Linked DNA regions of Homo sapiens: region 1 is linked to region 2. The links are contacts of gene promoters, found by promoter capture Hi-C in blood cells and fetal thymus (Javierre and others, 2016). All regions are on one chromosome and are shown on one strand. Each heading gives the region's core, a stretch centred on a gene start or on the middle of the fragment in contact. The rest is flanking DNA. Distances are from core to core; before and after follow the strand shown.

The links. The method cuts DNA at HindIII sites, captures the fragments that hold promoters and counts their contacts. A CHiCAGO score of 5 or more calls a contact.
Region 1: a contact is called between the fragment with the promoter of SIAH2-AS1 here and a fragment that was not itself captured in region 2, in 1 of 17 cell types (activated CD4 T cells). The highest score is 5.5, in activated CD4 T cells.

What each region holds. Positions count from the first base shown.
Region 1 is chr3:150,760,338-150,763,299 of GRCh38, forward strand. It overlaps SIAH2-AS1 (SIAH2 and CLRN1 antisense RNA 1), which reads left to right and starts at 1,600. Exons shown (of 3, transcript NR_187306.1): 1 at 1,600-1,643; 2 at 2,002-2,070. SIAH2 (siah E3 ubiquitin protein ligase 2) reads right to left here and starts at 2,832. Exons shown (of 2, transcript NM_005067.7): 1 at 2,096-2,832. The coding sequence starts at 2,512. RefSeq lists enhancers at 387-486, 2,303-2,962 and a silencer at 2,358-2,962. The HindIII fragment of the contact is 3,527 bases long and covers 1-2,962 here.
Region 2 is chr3:157,172,180-157,175,036 of GRCh38, forward strand. LOC101928236 (a long non-coding RNA gene) reads left to right here and starts at 1,521. Exons shown (of 10, transcript XR_007096141.1): 1 at 1,521-2,376; 2 at 2,570-2,857. It also overlaps the pseudogene RNA5SP146. RefSeq lists enhancers at 2,170-2,857, 2,656-2,857. The HindIII fragment of the contact is 1,335 bases long and covers 773-2,107 here.

The DNA.
Region 1 (2,962 bases), core at 350-2,849, 6.4 Mb before region 2:
CCTTTTAAATTTCAGCTTGCAAAGTAATAGCTTTACCCCACTGCATTCTTATAGAATAGAGACTCAGAAAACCACTGACATGTACAGAAAGGCTGAGAACCCCTGATTCCCAGAACTACTCTTCAAGGTTGATTTCAGTAGCCTGTTTCACGTTAGGAAAGAACGTATGCTTTCATAGGAACCAGAGTTCTAGATCCTGAAAGTGAAACTTCATGCTCCATATAGCATAACTGTTTCCTTCCCTTTCTCTTGGGAACAACACAATTCTATTATGGTTACATTTTAAAAACAAATTATGGATTACTGACTAATATCAAATGCTCATTTGTGAACTAAAACTCACCTAAAAGCCATTTCTTTTGTTAGCCGCTGCGCGTTTAAGGGAAAGTAAAGGGGTGAGAAAATGGCTCCCCAGAAATCCTATGGGGCATCCCCCACCCCTGCAATATATCTCAAGCATCAAATAGCCACTCTATGTTAACTACCACCAAACCTTTTCCAACCACTAGGTTGTCACCTTTTTCACAACCCTAAGACAACTATGCAAATACTTTATCTAAATTTTGAGAAACTGGGCTGAGTGAATTAGTAAGCACTATATGAGGAGGGGTTAACAGCAATTTATTAAGGTTGCCTGAAACACCCTAGTCCAAACACCGATTCAAACTCTTATTTAAATATGCTATTTTAAACCTGATTTGCAGCAGGGCAGCAGACCAAATTAAAGCACTCATTTTACTGACCTGAGTCCCAAGCCTGAATTCTCTGGTGGATTATTTTTAATTTAAAAATGAGCTCTTGTCCTATAAAATAAGCAGCACCAAGGAGAAATGCAAGACAGCTTAAATGGCCCAAGAGGCAGCGCAAGTTACTTTTACAAAAAAACTGGAAAGTATTAGTGACATTATCTCCACTTCTAATTTCAGAAAATGACTTTACAGTATACTTCTAGGTTATAACGTAGACAAGTATGTCTGTGAAACTGCTCCTGAAGGTTTCCACGTAATAGCTGCAGGTAAACAAATGTTATAATATGACCACACAATGCAATACTATGCAGCCATTTAAAATACAATGAAGTCGACTAGGTTTCAGGCATAGAGAAATATGTGTGATAATATGAATTTAAGAACAGCAAGTTGCAGATGCCATTTTTGGAGAAAAACTTACATCTATGTGTGGGTATTAAAAAACCTCCCTGACATACACTGACATCTATGATTCTATATTTAGCTGCGAGGGTGTATGTATATATAGTTTAAAAAGATACACACTAAACCTAACAATGGTGGGAAAGGAGGGGAGAGATCTTGGTCTTTCATTTTACTTCTTGTCTTGGTGGCTTGCATTTTTCGCAAGGGCATTGAAAACTTTTTACATTAAATAAAAAATGAAGTGATGAGCTTTAAACAACTGTAACAACAGCTCTTGAGTGCCCTTGTTAATTTCTTGATTGACTGTTTTCACCCCACTTAGTACAACAACGCAGCCACAACTCCTCAGTCCTTCCCAGTCTTTGGAAGGCTAGGAGAGAAAAAGGCGTGGCTTGCAGGGTTTTCTTCTAGCTAGAGGAAAACAGGCTGTAGGCGCCCTTTTTTTAGCTACAATCCCGAGAGCTCCCACGTGTCAGGGGTGCGCAGACGGTAGGCGCGGGGTGCAGGACTCCAATTATCAATTCAGCCGAGCCCAGCGCTGGTAAAGGGGGCGTTTAGCTCGCCCGTTTCCTCCCTCCTCAATCCCCACACAGTCAGTTTCTCGGTCCAAGTTTTACTGGTGCGGCCCAGCCCTACCGAGAGTACCCGAATACACGTCTGCAGAGGACGCGGGCATTGGGCCGGGTGAGCTACGATGTTCTAACGATCAGCAAATGCCAATTAATCTGTTAATTGTCTATTAACAATTATTACTCGGTAAATGTCAACCCAGACCTACACCCAAAGTGGGCTTGAGGGAGGGTGGACGAAGTGTAAACATTTTTTCTTTTTTTTTTTTAAATGAGAGATGCCGCCCGCCTCTCCGGGCCTGCGAGTGGGCTGGCGGATACCGGAGTCCCTGAGGTCACCGGCGGAGGTACGTGGGCTGTCCCTGGGCTTACCTTACAGGGAAACAGGACTGCCGAGGCCACCTTCTCCATAGCCAGGTTCCTGATGCTGGGCGTCAGGGCGCCCCTGCACGTCGGGCAGCAGCTCAACTTCTGGCGGCATTGGTTACACACCAGGTGCCCGGCCTGGCACTGCAGAATAGGAGGCAGGACATAGTCAAAGCAGACCGGACACTCGAAGAGCGAGGTCAGCTCGTGGTGCTGCGGGGACACCGGGCCGGCCCCGCCGCCGCCGCCGGGGCCCGAGATCACCGCCGCCGCGGCGGGCACCGCGGACGAGCCGGGGCCCGCAGCCGAGATGGTGGCGGCGGCCGGGGGCGCAGCCGGGGACGGAGTGTGCTGGGGCTGCGGCGGCGGCTGCTTGCTGCAGGGTTTATTAGCGCTGGGGCCGGTGGAGGACGGGCGGCTCATCGCGCTCCGAACCAACCATGGAACTGCGGGCGCCTGCCTGCCGCGGGGCCGCCCGGGTCAAGGCGGTGCGCGCCCCGCGGGCAGCGAGCTCCGAGGCAACGCCACGGCGCCCAGCCCAGGTCCGGGCGGCGGAGACGCTCGGCGCCCGGCAGGCGGAGGGCTGGACCGCGCTGATGCACTCCGCAGCCCCCGGCGTTCCGAGCACGCCTCCGCGTCGGACCCCGCGCGGTGCCCTCCTCCCGGCGGCGTCCCGGGCCCCGAACCCCAGCGGTGCGCAGAGCCCTGGCCCACCCGCTTCTGGAACAGCCGCTGACGCAAGCCCCGGGGGCGCGCGCGGACGTGACGCCTGGACACGTGTGCGGCCGCCCAGGCGCGCGGGGACTGGCAGAGCCACCCTGCGCCGGGGCGCTGGCTCCGCCCGGCTCCAGCTGGCAGCGCAGGGGGCCGCCT
Region 2 (2,857 bases), core at 190-2,689:
GTTTGTGTGTGTGTGTGTGTGTGTGTGTGTGTGTGTGTGTGTGTCTTGTGATATTTTTCACAATTCCAGGCCAACTACTTTGAAGCATGTTCCTAAATTTGGATGTGTCTGATTATTTCCTCATGATTAGATTCAGGTTAAAGATTTTTCAAGGAATACTCCATAGGTAATGTTGTATCTCCATGCTTCACATCTAGGGGCACACGATGCCCAATTTTTTGTTCAATTATTGGCTACTTTTTATCATTTGTTAAGGTGGTATCCATCAGATTTCTCCATTGTAAAAGTACCTTAACACCCTTGCAATTAATAAGTAATCCATGGGATTATTCTTCCACAGTAAATAGCATTCTAACAAATATCAGTATCAAAGAAAAATGGCCCATAATGAAATTTTGTACAGTTAGAATGACTCTAACAAATCTCTACTGAGTATTCACTAAACTATGTTATGCTAGGCACTAAGACCAAAGTGATGAACAAATAGAGTACATGGAATGCTACATGAAAGGGTAGAATGCTACAGGAGCATACAGGAGAGGAACAAAGACCATTACATGTGAAGAAATGGAAGTTCAGAGATGTGAAAGGACTCGACCAAGATTTTAGATCCAGTAGCAGAGTGAAATTAGAACGGTGGTTTTTCTGATGCCCAGTCCAGTGTTCTTTCCATGACCACACACAAGGGCTCTACTGTAATGTTGGTTCTCTGGAACAAGTATAGCATTTGTTACCACAGTGAAAACAATGATACCTTAGTACTAAAAGAACAAGCTTTCTCCAGATCTACCACAAGGTGCTTTAGAGGGAATTTCGATTTAAACTATGTGCATTGTAACATTGAAGTCACTGGAGACCTAGTCTAGTTTTGCCTCAGGGAACTGTTTCTTTATAGTGTCACTGTCACACACACATGCACATACACACGCAGGCACATGCATACAGCACATAACTGGATATTGCTTATCAGCCCCATCTTAAAAATAGCACAGAACAAGACTTTTATTTTCAGCAATCAGGAAACGTTCAGAGGTATCTACATCCTAGTCTTGAGAGTCGACTTATATTTGATACCTGATTTTTATAGTTTTCACAGCATTTTCATATACTATCACTGGACTCTCAAAAACAACACAGTTAAGGCAGGTGTGATTGGGCACAGCTGTAGTACCAGGTACTCAGGAGACTAAGGCGAGAGGATAACTTGATCCCAGGAGTTCAAGTCCAGCCTGGGCAACATAAGGAGACCTCATCTCTTAAAAAACACCTGAACTGGCCAGACGCGGTGGCTCACGCCTGTAATCCCAGCGCTTTGGGAGGCCGAGGTGGCTGGATCACCTGAGGTCAGGAGTTGGAGACCAGCGTGACCAACATGGTGAAACCCCGTTTGCGGTGTTAGCCAGGTGTGGTGCCGCATGCCTCTAATCCCAGCTACTTCAGGAGGCTGAGGCAGGAGACTCACTTGAACCCAGAAGGCGCAGGTTGCAGTGAGCCAAGATCGCGCCCATTGCACTCCAGCCTGGGTGACAAGAGCAAAACGCTGCCTCAAAAAAATACAAAAAACACAAAAAAAAACCCCACCTGAATTATTTCTTAAGGTGGGAAAGAGGGATCAGTGTAAAATGTTGGCTGGATTACTGTCTTGCCTTTAGATATAAAAATATCTAGTGTATACTTAATTTTCAGAATTACAAAATTAGGGAATGATCAAACGTATATATATATTTTATTTTTCAAAAGCCTGCGGCACCCAGTGTTTCAAGGTGGTCTCGCATTCAAGGACTAGCTAAGCAGGTCAGACCCTGCTTAGCTTCCAAGATCAGAGAAGACAGGGCAAGTTCAGGGTGGTGTGGCTGTGGACCATGTTTTTATACCTATAATTTATTTATATTCATTCACTCAATCCTGCTGTATGCAGGACGATCTCAGCTTCAAACTCAAAAGCTGGATCTGGTGGTCAGCTCTTTCAGGCACTGTTTTGTCATGGGATTTAAAGATCTCTTGTGCTTAGTTTTGGATCTGTAAACATAAATCCCAACCTGGATTCTTCCCTGGGCTGACGGAGTTCAGGGAGAAAGGTAGCAGTAGATAAGTCATATGCTGGAAAAGCTTGGACTCTACCCTGTCATGAAAACTTTCAGGAACATTTCTTATTTCTTTTTAGAGACAAGGTCTCACTATGTTGCCCAGGCTGGCCTCGAACTCCCGGGCTTCAGCAGTCCTCCCGCCTCACCCTCCGATGTAGCTAGGACTACAGGACCGCGACCCGGCGCTGCCTAAGAACTGTTTTTAAACGTGAAAGCCACGGCTATCATTTGCTTTTTGCTCTGCTCTTCATCTTCTGGATAAACCTCGTAACACACTGCTTGTTTTGGGGTAAGTGAATTTAAGTATTATTATGGCATTTCCAATTTTCACGGAAGGACTCTGGCGATATCATAATCGTCACAAGCCCTGAAACGGCCATCAGAGGTCAAGCAGGGAGGTGGGTTTTCTGGAGGGCTTAACTGTGGGGTAAGTGACTGGAGGGGGCTGATCAGTTTCCCCTTTCCCTTTTCCCGGAGCTCAGTGGTAGTCTGCTGCCTACGCCCCGTCAGACAAGTGGCCTGAGTCCCCCGCAACCCCTGCAGGTCCGGCCGCCGGCGCCAAGCCTCAAGGCATCCAAGCCAGGAACGATCGCGGTCAGCTCTGCCACGGAACATGTGCAAGACCCGGCAGCAGGTTCCGGGGGAGGCGAATTGATTTCACAACGGTCGAGAAGGAGGACCCCGCCCACTTCGTCATTTCTCGGAAGCCCAGGGACTCGCCGGAAGAGCGGCTCAAAAGCCGGAAAACTGGCAAATCCGAGTCTCCCGGC